4 separate regions of the Homo sapiens genome follow, and regions 1, 2 and 4 are each linked to region 3. Evidence: promoter capture Hi-C in 16 types of primary human blood cells and fetal thymus (Javierre and others, 2016). All regions are on one chromosome and are shown on one strand. Each heading gives the region's core, a stretch centred on a gene start or on the middle of the fragment in contact. The rest is flanking DNA. Distances are from core to core; before and after follow the strand shown. Region 1 overlaps ATAD2B (ATPase family AAA domain containing 2B). Region 2 has its middle 14 kb from the start of CYRIA. Region 3 holds the start of PUM2 (pumilio RNA binding family member 2). Region 4 overlaps CYRIA (CYFIP related Rac1 interactor A).

Region 1 (3,455 bases), core at 305-2,804, 3.6 Mb before region 3:
CAAAGAGGTTAGAATTAAAAAAGTTGCTTAAGTGGGGATGACTATATCTTTTCATTATTTAATTTCTGTAGGATTTTACATTATTATTATTATACTTCTCTTGGAAGTTATCTCATCCTTGGATTGTGTTCTGGTATTTTATGTGCCCCATTATTAAGTTGTTAGAATACATATTCCCACTTCTATAGAAGACTTGAAAACAACATTTATTTATTTATTTATTTATTTATTTATTTTTGAGACACAGTCTTGCTCTGTTGCCCAGACTGGAGTGCAGTGACGTGATTATGGCTCACTGCAACCTCAACTGCTGGGGCTCAGGTGATTCTCCCACTTCAGCCTCCCAAGTAGCTGGGACTGCAGGCATGGACCAGCACACCTGGCTAATTTTTCTATATTTTTGTAGAGACACGGTCTTGCCATTTTGCCCAGGCTGGGCTCGAACTCCTGAGCTCAAACAATCTGCCCACCTCAACCTCTCAGTGTTGAGATTACAGGCATGAGCCACCATGCCCGGCCAAAAACATCCTTTAAAGTCTACATCAAATAGGTTATTTATTTATTTATTTATTTAAAGAGACAGGTCTTGCTGTGTTACTCAGACTGGTTTCAAACTCCTGGCCACAAGGATCCTACCGCCTGGGTCTCCCAAAATGTTGGGATTACAGGTGTGAGCCACTGTGCTTGGCCTCAAGTAGTTCTTATCCATCTTTTTTACCACTGCCTTCCACGTCTTATGTACATAGTAGGTCATCAGTAAATGTTAGTTAACTGAAATTATTTCCCTTATGCCTGAGGTACTTTTCCTACTCATGGATTATAATCACTGTGACACAGATTGCTAAATGGCTGTGGGTAGATTGCATAATCTTTTAAATATCTTTGTCATGAAACTGGTAACGCCTTCTCTCAAAGGGTTAGGTTATCATTAGCTAGTAAAATGCTTTGAGGGAAGATGAAAAAGTTAAGGTTGAGGGTTATGATCATCCTATTAAGGGTGAATTGTTAGCATCAGGTTTGTAGGTAGAAGCTTTCCCAAAGCTTGAAGTTAATTAAATGGTGCTGAAGTAATTATTTTGTACCTGTTTACATCGTGGTTGCTTACTTTACTTAAATCCCTAGATTTCTTTGGAGGGAAGGAGTCTTTGGTAATCCTCTTTATTCTGAGGTCTCTGTCATAGAGCCAAATCAAGATTGAAACCCTCCCGTGACAAAAAAAGTAAATATACCAGTACATTGTAGCAGTTAGGATGATGTGCTTTGTATTATACTTGAAGTATGTTATATGCCAGAGGTCCTCAGACTTTTGTGTACTAAGAATCATTTGGAAGCCCTTGTTAAAAACGTTTCACCTCCAGAGATTCCAGTCCAGCAGGTTGTAATTTTTAATGAGTAATGCAGGTGATTTTTGATTCAGGTAGTATGTAAACAACAGTTTGAGAAATACTTCTGAATGGAATTGAAAGCCAGTAGAATATGCAAATGGCCAATAAATAAATGTGCAAAACTCACTTAAATTGATATTCAAGTAACTATATACTTGGATTATTTTAAAAATTCAAATATTTTACTACTTTTTTTTTTGTCTTCAGTTCAATGGTACATAGTACTTATTTCCAGAGTATGTTTGGGAAACTAGTACCTGCAGATATTCCATGAAAAAAGAGAGCTTGATCAAATAAGTTTGTGAAATGTTACATACTTTATTTCATCCTTAGAGATTTATTTTGCATGTTATCATAATACTCTTAGAAGTTTTGCAGCAAAAAGCCTTGGACCTCATCGTTTCCCAAACTTAATTCACCATGAGCCCTCCTTTCTTGCCCCTAATAATTTATATTAATAATTTGTGAACAAATTTCCAGAAATTTTGTTTGTTGTTTTTCCTTGTTATCATGGAATTTTAAAAAATAGGGTACGTTTTTGTAATTCAGGAGCTTAAAATCTTGCTAGAATTTCAAGACTTGGACATGACACTTTAAAGATGATAAATATATAATGCTAAGTTGAAATAATCAAGTGCCCAAATGTATAGTAGGGCTGCAACTAGTAGCAGGGATAAGCTTAATTTAGGCTAGATTCTTCAGGGAGATTTCATGAAGAAAAAAAAAAAAAGGGTCCTGAGATAGGTCTTGAAGATGAATGATCAAATTTGATTGGAAGGAGTAATGCTGGCCTGGGCTATCTAAATTGGTACAGTAGTTTATAGGTACTAGTTTCTGTATCACAGATACACTCTAGCTTAAAATACATGATGTTGCTTCCTCAGTGACTCCTTTTTTTTCGATAAACAATCATTTTATTACTTGAGTACGTAGACAAACTTATGCAACCAGGGCAGAGGCTGTGGATGACTCATGTTTCCAGTTGGGTGGGAGGATTTGCTTGGTCTTGTATTAATAATATTGAGCCAGTCGGTGAATTCATCTATCAGAATCAGATGGAATTTGGCATCCTTATCCTTTCTGTTCCTCTCAGCATGCTTTCGAATAGCAACTGCTTGCTTAATTAAACAGTAGAGATCCTCAGGGAGATCAGGCGCAAGTCTTTTGGACTTAAGGATTCTTAAGATTGTATTGCCTGTCACAAAAATATACTTGTGCAACACCATATGAGCCTCAGGATCACACTGATTTGTGAGGGAGGCAGACCCTTCTTGGTCAGTTTGTAAGTCTGCTCCTTCATGTCATCAGATGTCAGCTTCAGCCAAGTGGGAACCTTGCAGTGACAGGGCAGAGCCGATTGAGACAGGCCCTTCCCAGGAGTGCACATGCGACTCATGATGGTGGCAGTCAGGCGGTCCAGTGACTACGTCTTGAATATGTTATATAATAATGCTTTTCAAACTCTAATGTGCACATGAATCACCTGGGGATCTTTTAAAAATGGTTTCTGATTCAGTGGATCTGAGGGTGGAGCCTGAGATTCTACATTTCTAATGAGCTTCCAAATAGATCATGCCCATGTTGTTGGTTCACAGACCAGAATTGGAGTAAAGAATGTCTTGGATTAGTAATTCAGTTAGATGACCTTTAATGCACACTTTAACCTTGGGAGTCTGTAAATATACCAGGTTGGAGTGGATGAGCTAGTATAAAGAAAACTAAAGCTGGGCGTGGTGGCTCATGCTTGTAATCCCGGCGCTTTGTGGGGCCGAGGTGGGAGGATCTCTTTAGGTCAGGAGTTTGAGAACAGCCTGGCAATGAGACTCTGTCTCAAATAAAATAAAATAATAAAAATATAAAATAAAAAGTAAGAGGCCAGGCGTGGTGGCTCATGCTTCTAATCCCAGCACTTTCGGAGGCCGAGGCTGGCAGATCACGAGGTCAGGAGTTTGAGACCAGCCTGGCCAACACAGTGAAACGCTGTCTCTACTAAAAATACAAAAATTAGCTGGGCGTGGTGGCATGCACCTGTAATCCCAGCTACTTGGGAGGCTGAGGCAGGAGAATTGC
Region 2 (3,352 bases), core at 769-3,268, 3.7 Mb after region 3:
TATACCTAATGCTAAATGACTAGTTAATGGGTGCAGCACACCAATATGGCACACGTATACATATGTAACAAACCTGCACATGGTGCACATGTACCCTAAAACTTGAAGTATAATAATAATTAAAAAAAAAAAAAAAAAGAATAAAACAGGGCCAGAAAGCTACAAAGACATGTCAGGGCAAGTTCAGGGTTTAAAAAGCTACACTGCCTTCCAGTCAAAGAGCACGCCATGTGCAGTCTCCCTTGGGTCTAGCTGGGCTCTGGCCCCCCGTAGTGTCCACCTCTAGTCTTATTGCTGTCCTCTGGGGCCACAGGGGACTTTGCACAACTACTCTCATGGGTTTCTGGAAACTTCTCTTCCTCAGGGTCAGTGCCTCCCAGGCTTTTATACATGCCATCATCCAACCTGGATTACTTTTTCTACGGTTCATATTCAGCCTTTCTTTCTAGATACATTTTTCTGTACCTCCCTTTGGAAGCCATATCTGATAACCTGTCTTCAACTTCTGCTTAATTCTGCAGCAGTTTAGCAAAGTTGACCAGAAGTCTTTCTACCATTTCCATGGGCTTGTTTTTCTCAAACAGAGCTTCTGGAAGGCAGGGACTCATGTTTGTTTTATTGCCCATATGTAAAGAAACCACACTGGAATTTTTCTTCAGCGACTGCCTTCTGACTTCCTAATTGTGTCTAACGTCGTATGAGGAAAGTGAAGCCCATGGAGGTTGCTGAGTCCCAAGTTCCTTCGGCTGAGTGCTATCAAAGCAGGACTGAAACCCAGGTCTCCTGACTCCCATTCCAGTGCTGATTTTTTTCCCAAATATGTCCCCTTGGCCTATAGAATTTTAATACAACAATTCTTTCGTGAATTACTTGCCTATTCAGGTGTCTGTATGTCCTCTGATTAACATGATCACTCTTGTCTATCTTAAATAACATCAACAAATTCATGCATAATCTCTAATTGAGCCTTTTTTAAGCCTTTGTAAAGAACTATGTACAGACCATAAATGCTTTTTTGATGATAATAGTGATTTTTACCAAAAGCCTTCATTTAGGATAAGTGTGCAACTGCAGGAAGCAAGGCTACTGTTCCTACTCACATTCCCACGTTCACTACAAGCAACTTCAAAGAAACTCTGCAGATGAAGCAATGCCACTATATTGCAATTTAAGCTTTCTTCAGTCATTTCTCTGCAACCACACTCAAATTTTCAATTCCTCAAATAGAAAATGAACTGAATAGACATTAACAAAGTAATCTCTCTACTTCTTTGAAAATTGCAAACTAGCTGAATTTTTCTCTTATGGTTGATAATAGCCATGAAGAAACCAATCATAACTCCTTCTCTTCTGCCTCCCAAATACATCATTTGAAAAAACTTCCTTTATTGGGTAATAAAACGAGAGGAAAAATCATATTAGAGACTAATGAACTCATATAGTGTTATTTTCATCACTTAGTAACCTCAGGATATGAATAATTTTCTTAAACGAATTTTTTAAATGTGGACTAAGGAATCCAAATCCTTAAAAGCCTGAAGTTGTCAAAGTAGAGTGATAACTTTTTTCAAGTTTATAAATTTTGAGACAGAAAAACAGTCTTTTACAGCTTTAGCTGTCTTTAACTTCAATCGCATATTCTAGCTAAAGTCATTAAGCCCAAGCACTGACCTAGATTGAGAAAAAGAGGACATCAATTCTAAAGACATGAACATTTGGGACAATAATTGTAGCCACAGCTCAAAGAGGAGACATCCTGTTTTCCTGTAGGGATGGACAGAGAACTTCACAAAGCACACACTACCGGCTGAGGCAGTACCTAGGAATCAAACTGGGCACCACTCAAAGCAGGCATTAGCTGGGCTGATCCTGGAGAGTTTGTCACAGCCTTTAGTGACTTCAGAAGTGAAAGGAGAGAAGATGCAGTGGAAGGGTTAGTTGTGTAACCAGGAAGGGTTGGCACTTTGCTAAATATGTGGAATTATTTGAGAGTCAAAAATAAGCCAGCTTCACCCCCGTGTTTCCTGTGCACTTACCTACAAAGTGTCTGGCCTGCCTGCAGAAGAATCTTCCTTTCTACTAAGGTTTTGTGTGTTCCTTTCAGAATATATACGTCCTTATGTCCTCTGAAAAGTAATTCAAACTGAGCTGATGTGGAAAACACTCCCCTTACTCAAAACACTGTAGACATGCCGTCTTAAAAATGGAAAAAGTAATCAGCTAGGAATTGTAAATCCATAGCCTAATTTGAGACCAAGAAAGGAAAATTCCACATTGAGAAAAAAATTAGAGGGGATCTCAAAATGGTAAGTGAGATTTAAAACTGAAAAGTGTTACAGGGAAATTGGAACCTGGTACAGGCCTTAACAGCTGGCACTAAGGATTAATGCCACCCAGAGAGGGGAATTCAGCCAGGAGCCCCATGTGTGTGGGCAGCTGAAACTGAGTGATCTGAATTGATTCTGCAGCCACTGGTATTGTTGTTTGTAAAAAAATCACTGCCCACCAGCTGGGCGCAGTGACTCACACCTGTAATCCCAGCACTTTGGGAGGCTGAGGTGAGTGGATCACTCAAGGCCAGGAGTTAGAGACCAGACTTCCAACATGGTGAAACCTCGTCTCTAATTAAAAAAAAAAATAGCTGAGTATGGTGGTATGCGCCTGTAATCACAGCTACTCGGAAGGCTGAGGCAGGAGAATTACCTGAACCGAGGAGACAGAGGTTGCAGTGAGTCAAGATTGTGCCACTGTACTCCAGCCTGGGTGACAGACAGAGTGAGACTCTGTCTCAAAAAGAAAAAAAAAATGGAAAGAAGTAGAAAATCACTGTCCATCTAACCCAAGAAAGCTGTAATGAAGCTTCTTATCCACCTAGGTCAGGGAATAAAAATAAACACACCTGCAAAAAATCAAAACACAGGAAGGGTTCCAAATCTAAGCTAGTTGAGTTTTCCAGGACACCAAAGAAATAAATTAACATAAAGATTAGTCCAGTACACTTAAGCTCATAAAGCATCAGTGATGCAAATGAGAAACTGTCACCCAAAGCAAATCACATGGGTTTCTAATAGAAAATATCCTCATAGCCAAAATTATAAACCATATAAGAAAATGGATGACACAGAAGAACAATTAAGAGAAACAATAAATAATCCTGGAGATTGCAAAAACTTAAATAAAAGTAAAAGTAATTCAAATCAGTAGCTTCAATTAGGGTTTCTCTTAGGATTTCAAGAATAATTCAGCAGCAGAAATGCTACCAGTATATTTTATCACATTAAACAAATTAAAGGAGAAAAGCCATAGGAAATATAGAGAAAATGTTAGATAAAATTTGCCATCATCTGTGATA
Region 3 (3,113 bases), core at 209-2,708:
GTGAGACTGGAGACAGGAAAGCTGATTAAGAGCCAGCTACAGAAATCCAGACCTGGGAAGCAAGGCTAGCATTAGTGAGGAGGCAGAGGAAGACTGTCTCCAGAATTACTTGGGAAGTAAAAATCTGCGAGGCTTGGTAAGTTATTTATATTTGGAGTCGGGGTAAGAGGAAGAGACAAGGATGGTTCTCAGAGGTGTAATTTGGGGAATGAATAGGTGGTGACACTGCCAATTACAGAGACAGTACAAGAGTGGGGGGTAGGGGATGGGTGTGACTTCAGTTTTTAACATGCTTGGTGACAAGAAAATTCAAGTGAAAATATCTAGAAGCCTGAAATATGAGCCTAAGGTAGGGGCTTGGGATGGATTTCAATGTCAGACATTTTTCAGTAATAGTTAAAAACCGAAGAGCCCATGTGTATTCAACAGGCACTTGCGGGCACAGTGTGAAACAAAACACAAGGTCCTTGCCCTCGTGGAGCTCACAGTCGCCTAGGGAAGACATATATTAAGCAAACTATACGGGAGGCCCTGAATATTTACGAAGTGCAGCATGTCAGGAGAGCCAGGAGCTGTGCAAACAAACCATCAAGAACAAATCGGACACGGTGCCTGTTACAGCTGTGTGACCTGGAGCCGGTTAGGTTAGAATCCTGGAATCACCACTGCTTTGCATGGGGGTCCAGGACAGCAAGGCAGATTTGGAGTTTCCAACTAGCCTGTAAACGGGGAAGGAGAGAGCGCTTAGTACGCGAGAAAAAGAAACAGCCAACGAGTGAGAATCACTGGCCCAGCTGGAGAACGACCTGAGTTTCCTTTGTGTGCACCGGGACCAAGCACTGGGGGCCGACAATTTGCTGAGAGCTGGCTCCACCTGCCTGGGGTGCAACCACGAGAAGAGTGACAGCCCTCTCGCAGGGTACAATCTTCCACCCCCAGATGCATCTCCCTCGTCTGGTTGTGGGGAGGTACAGAGTGAAAGTTAAAGGCCTGAATTAACGTCCGGCTCTTGTGGGCGCCAGCACTCTGGAAGCGAAATGCCAGGAGTACCCCACGGTGGGCGGCGCGGGCGCAGACACCCGCACACCCAGTTGGGGGAAAACAGTGAGCAACCGGGTAGGAAGCCGAGGGTAAGAAGATTCAGAAGGCGAGGCCCCACGCGGGAAGACAGTCGAACACAGCGTTTGGCAACAGTACGCCTGCGCTCTCCGAGCCCGCCGCGGCGGAGCCCAGGAGGGAAGCGCGAGCCCGCAAGGTGAGGGCGGGGGAGGGCACGCCGGAGAGGCGGCCAAACACGTGAGAGCGCGGAGAACGTGCGCACGCGCAGGGCGCCCCCGGCCCGCGCGGCGGCAGCGCGGGAGCAGGGACGCAAGGCATTAAAAGGAGCCGCGCCTTGGTGAGCGCTCCCCCTCCCCTTTCTCCCGGGGTGCACTGCGCGCGCCCGGTGGGCGGGGGGGAGGGGAGGGCAGGCGGCGGTGGCAGCCATGTTGTTGTGAGTCTCTGTGTCTCACCCTCGGTACTTCGGTGGTTCGGAGGAGGAGGGGGAGGAGAAGGAGGAGGTGGGGTGGGGGGGGAGGGTGGTAGGTGGAGAAAGAAGACATTGCCGCCACCGAAGGCGGAGGAGGGGGAGGACCGCCAAGAGCGACGCCGCCGTGTGCCCAACGGTCGGTGTCCCCGGCTGAGGCAGCGCGGCCGCAGCAGCCCTGTAAGTCAGTCCGCGTTCGCTCTTTCTCCGGTCCTTTGGCGCCGTCGAGGATGGCTCCCCAGGCTTTGTGCGGCGGCCTCGGCGGGAGCCGATCGCCAGCGGGAGGGCGGATAGGGCCTGCTGAGTGCCCGGGCCGGTGCGGCCTGGGGCCCGCTCGCACAATGCAGGGGGAGGGGTGCCGGAAGGGGGTGTGCGCGTGCGGGGGAGGGGGCGCCGCGCCGGCCGCTTTCCCGCTTCCTTCCCTCTGCGGGGCCGCCGCCTCGGGGGCGTGGGGCGCCGACCCGGTTCTCCCTCCGATTCGGCGCGCTGGAGGTTAGAGACCGAGCTGTCGGCCCTAGGGTTCGGAAAGAGGGGAGAGGCCGGGTGGCCCCAGAGAAGCATGCGGATTGCAAGTGGGTGAAGAGGAAGGAGTGGGTTTATGAAAACAAGTGTGGGCATTTTCAAAGGCCCGAGTGTGTCCGGGAAAAGCTTGCCGTGGACAGATGTGGGTATGAAGCAGTGACTTGGATTCGCCTTGTTTAGGTTATAGGAACGGATTTCGATATTCAGAAAAATATGTAAATTAAAACCAAAGACAAGATTAGCGGCTTCTACTATTTGAGCAGTAGTTTTGTATCTGAATTGGGTCAGGTTTTGGGGAAAATGTTTAAAGTTTCATGCCCAAACACGTGTAAAAGTTAGTGTTGTTTCTGAAAACACAGCCAGAGAAAACCTACTTAACTTAGCTTTTTATTCTAACATACGTAAACTTTTGAAGAGAGGAATGTATTGCCAGCATATTAGGTGCAATAAGACATCATGTTAGGACTTAGTACTTTGAGATTTTTACTTGTTGAGAAAACGGGGCAGATGTTTTGGTGAAGGAAAACATGAGAAAAATGCTTGTAAACGGTGAAGAGAAATGTAATACCTGTAAAGGTACTGTATGTCAAGAAAACAATTTTAATAAAGGGAGTTACCGAAGGATTTTAAAAGCTTGTTTAATGGTTAGATTTCGTGTTTAACAGGTGACTCTTCACCATGTGACCTGGAGTATTGGAAGATGACTTAAGGAATCCTGTAAATAAAAAAAAAAAAACAAAAATGAGTATTTTCAACTTGTTTCTCTTCCTAGCCTCCTTTTAAACAATGATTTACTTCATTTGCTCAATCATTATGAATAAAAATGATGGCATTTTCCGTGCTGCAAGAATTTCTTTAAAATTCCGATTTTTGGTGAAATTGCATTGTGTAGAATTTTCTTGGTGTGCATGAGGGCAGTTTTTGTATGCAGAAAAGGTTTACGATAATCTTAAAAATAAAATTTTATTTCAGAAACCTGGTTCTTGAGGATTTAAGTCCAGTTTTTAAATTTTGTTTACAGGTCTAGCTATTTTGAGTTATAATTGCCAGTAACTTACGCATTTTC
Region 4 (2,946 bases), core at 334-2,833, 3.7 Mb after region 3:
GCCAAGACTTTCCACTCTCCACTTTGCTGACGCAGAGGGTGGCAGGGGGTAGCAGGGGGAGTCTGTGGGACCCGGAAGACTTCATCTCTGGAGACCTTTCCAGAAGGAAAAGAACCTCCCCTGGCAGGGCCTTTCCCTTTACAGAGCAAAATGCTCATCTCAGAGGAGCTTGAATTTCTTCAAATGCAGGGAAAAATCCTAGCAAATATAATAGGGTATACGGCAAGGGGAGAGAGGATGGCTAAGAAAAGCATTTGGCCCCAGTGAGGCTCAGGGACCTCTGGAGGCTGCCAGCTCCCACCTCGTATCCTCTGCCCATCTGAATCCTGCTCCTCAGGACAAAAAGTGGCTTATAGCAACTTGTAGCAACTTAGAGCAGGTGGGACAAGTAGCTCATAGGGTTAGAGTGTGAGGGGGGTAGGTAAGAGCTCACTGAAGACGGAAGCTAGAGGACATCCTGAAGCTGTGGGAAGATGTTAGGGAATTTTCACAAAGGAATGATAGAAATGGATTTCCAACCAGAAGTATGTGTGGGTGTCAAAGGATGGACCCCATAGTTACAAAGTTGTGGAGTGTTCATTAACGAGAGCTGGGGAGGGAAGATTGCTTTCAGCTGCTGGATCAGGTAGTAGGTTTGCTTAAAAATATTAAAAAGGGAAAAAGCAAAGACTTGCCTTTTCCTTATTCAAAAACTGTTTTTTGAGAACTGACTGTGCTTAGGTGCTGGGGTTGTTCTGACAGATAAACCCCTTCCTCATGGAACCCATTCCAAGCAGCCTCCTTGAAGAACCTTATCTGAAGGTACTTGACATAAGATGACTGGAATTTCCTGCATTCAACTGCATATTACAAGTTTTTAAAATGGGGAAATTAAAAAAAAAATTCACGGCACCTGATATTAAAATAATAAAAAGTTAATTCTTGGTCTGCCAATGACCTGCTCAAAGTGAGTGGACAGCCTCCCTGGGTCTTCATCTCCTCATCCTCCAGTGGAGCTAATCTTCCTTCCTGCCTCCTTTTCAGGAATATTTTGAAGACAACAAGCTTTGAAAACAAGTTGAAAGCTCTGTATAAATTGCAGGGCGTGACTCACATGCCTGTGCGGGACCCATGTTCACAAGGTGCTACCTGGTGAGAGGTTTTGGATGAAGGATAGAGTCTGTTCACAGATCAATTTTTATCAACTTTACTTCTCCAGGTTTGTCTGCAACTGTTTAGGGATTTTTTCCAGCTGTCAGAAATACTTTTCCTGATTTTATATTAGTATTTGGCTTCTGCACTGCAGTGCGGTGCTTTACAAACATGCACACGTATATGTTTACCTAATTTTTCTAGGATGATAATTTAATGTAGTTGATATGACAGTATAAGAAGGCAAAGGCCAGGATTGTTGCTCCAGGTACGAGGAGGCTTGAAAACAGCATCTGTGGGTATACAGGAGTGGGAGGTGTTAGAAGTCAGCCTAGCTTGGGTCAGGGTAGGAAACCAAAGGTGTGAATTGTCATGAAAAGCCACATGCAAGGTGCCAACCCTCCCAGACCCCCCAGAAATAGCTGTTGAAAATTGGGCTTTCTGGTAAAAAGATCAGCTGCTGCAGAACGCCTTCCATACATGTCAGCAAGTGGGGCCGGATAGCATAGAGCGAGCCTGAAATGCGTCTAAATAAATGATTATGGTGACTCACTCGCCCCCGTTGAATGGAATGTTTTTTTAAAGTGAAAGTAAGAGAGAAAGAAGATAATAAAGCAAAGAAAAAGAACAATAAGGTTTGAATTTAAAACAACAGGAGCAAAAAATTGAATTAGTCACTCATGTCAAAGCCTGTGAGCCTCTGTCCTGAATTGCTACCTTCCTCCTTGACTTGCCTTAAGGTCACGGTCTTTCTGTTTGAATTTCCTGGTGAAATAACACACCCTCTGATTGTTGCCATTCCCGGTGCCGGTTGCAGGCATGTAATGGGCATTCTGAGATACTTGTCACAGAGCCACTACAGAGCTTGTCTGTTGAGCTCAGAAGGCCTTTCCATGGCCAGAGAGGAGCATCCAGTCTCTCTGAGATGTTTAGGGTTGCTTTGTGGAGCCTCTGAGTGTGAGAGCTGGGGCTGCCAGCCCATGAAGCTTAACGGAGAAGGTTCTGCATTTGTTCTATTGTAGGCCTCTTGGTCTGTTGTTGCATCATCCCTGATATCAGGAACTGGCCCAGAGACCAATGAAACCTTTATGATTTGCTAGTGTTTTAATCGATCTGCAGTTTGCAGAGATTTTTATATTGAAGTGAGTCAGTCTTGTTTTATACTATATACTCATTCAGCTGAGTATATAGCTTTGCTCCTCTTTTTGGTTGATTTCTGGGCCATTGCTTAACCACTCTTACGTCTTAGGGATGTCATCCATAAAATTGACATAATTTCGTCTCAGCAGACCCCAACATAATACCTGTGAATATAAAATTATTTAATCTGGAAAAATGTGGAGTATGTCACTTTTGCTGCAGTCAGAAATAACCCCCAAATCTCAGTGGCTGATGGCGACGACTGTCTTGCTGTGCCACGTGTCAGGGGCTGCAGGTTGGCTTCTGTGGCACTGGTGTACATTTCTTCTCATTCTGGAACCTGGGCTGAGGGGGTGTGTGCTTCTTGGAATGTGTCATGCTCATGACAGAAGCGATCGAGCAAGGTGGCAGAAACTTGAGACTCTTGTTGAAACTTCTACTGGGATGTGGCTTTCTTTATTCTATTTTCACTCCATTTGGTAAACAAGGCAAATGTCCAAGTCCTATACCAATTGTAACCTCCTCCCAGGGAGGGGAAGTGGTACATCCAAGTCATCTGGCAACCAGCAGGATGGTACTGTACAACCGTGCTCTGTACTGTATAACTGTCCCCTGTACTGTATAACCATGCCCTGTACTGTACAACCGTGCCCTGTGCTGTATAGCCATCCCCTG

What was found. Contacts are between HindIII fragments. The CHiCAGO score rates a contact against its expected background, and 5 or more counts as called.
Region 1: a fragment that was not itself captured here is called in contact with the fragment with the promoter of PUM2 in region 3 in 1 of 17 cell types (M0 macrophages); the score reaches 5.0 in M0 macrophages.
Region 2: a fragment that was not itself captured here is called in contact with the fragment with the promoter of PUM2 in region 3 in 1 of 17 cell types (M0 macrophages); the score reaches 7.4 in M0 macrophages.
Region 4: a fragment that was not itself captured here is called in contact with the fragment with the promoter of PUM2 in region 3 in 1 of 17 cell types (M0 macrophages); the score reaches 5.1 in M0 macrophages.

The regions. Positions count from the first base shown.
Region 1 is chr2:23,900,019-23,903,473 of GRCh38, reverse strand. All of the region lies in intron 1 of ATAD2B (ATPase family AAA domain containing 2B), which reads left to right. It also overlaps the pseudogene RPS13P4. Among named protein-coding and RNA genes, the nearest start is that of ATAD2B, 25 kb to the left of the region's middle. The HindIII fragment of the contact is 1,022 bases long and covers 1,044-2,065 here.
Region 2 is chr2:16,678,321-16,681,672 of GRCh38, reverse strand. No RefSeq gene overlaps it. Among named protein-coding and RNA genes, the nearest start is that of CYRIA, 14 kb to the right of the region's middle. The HindIII fragment of the contact is 1,686 bases long and covers 1,176-2,861 here.
Region 3 is chr2:20,349,189-20,352,301 of GRCh38, reverse strand. It overlaps PUM2 (pumilio RNA binding family member 2), which reads left to right and starts at 1,458. Exons shown (of 21, transcript NM_015317.5): 1 at 1,458-1,705. RefSeq lists enhancers at 99-728, 936-1,025, 729-1,360, 1,361-1,990 and a silencer at 1,186-2,075. The HindIII fragment of the contact is 4,637 bases long and covers 1-2,175 here.
Region 4 is chr2:16,649,720-16,652,665 of GRCh38, reverse strand. The region is part of intron 1 of CYRIA (CYFIP related Rac1 interactor A); the gene reads left to right. Among named protein-coding and RNA genes, the nearest start is that of CYRIA, 15 kb to the left of the region's middle. RefSeq lists enhancers at 2,561-2,710, 2,751-2,800. The HindIII fragment of the contact is 1,073 bases long and covers 1,047-2,119 here.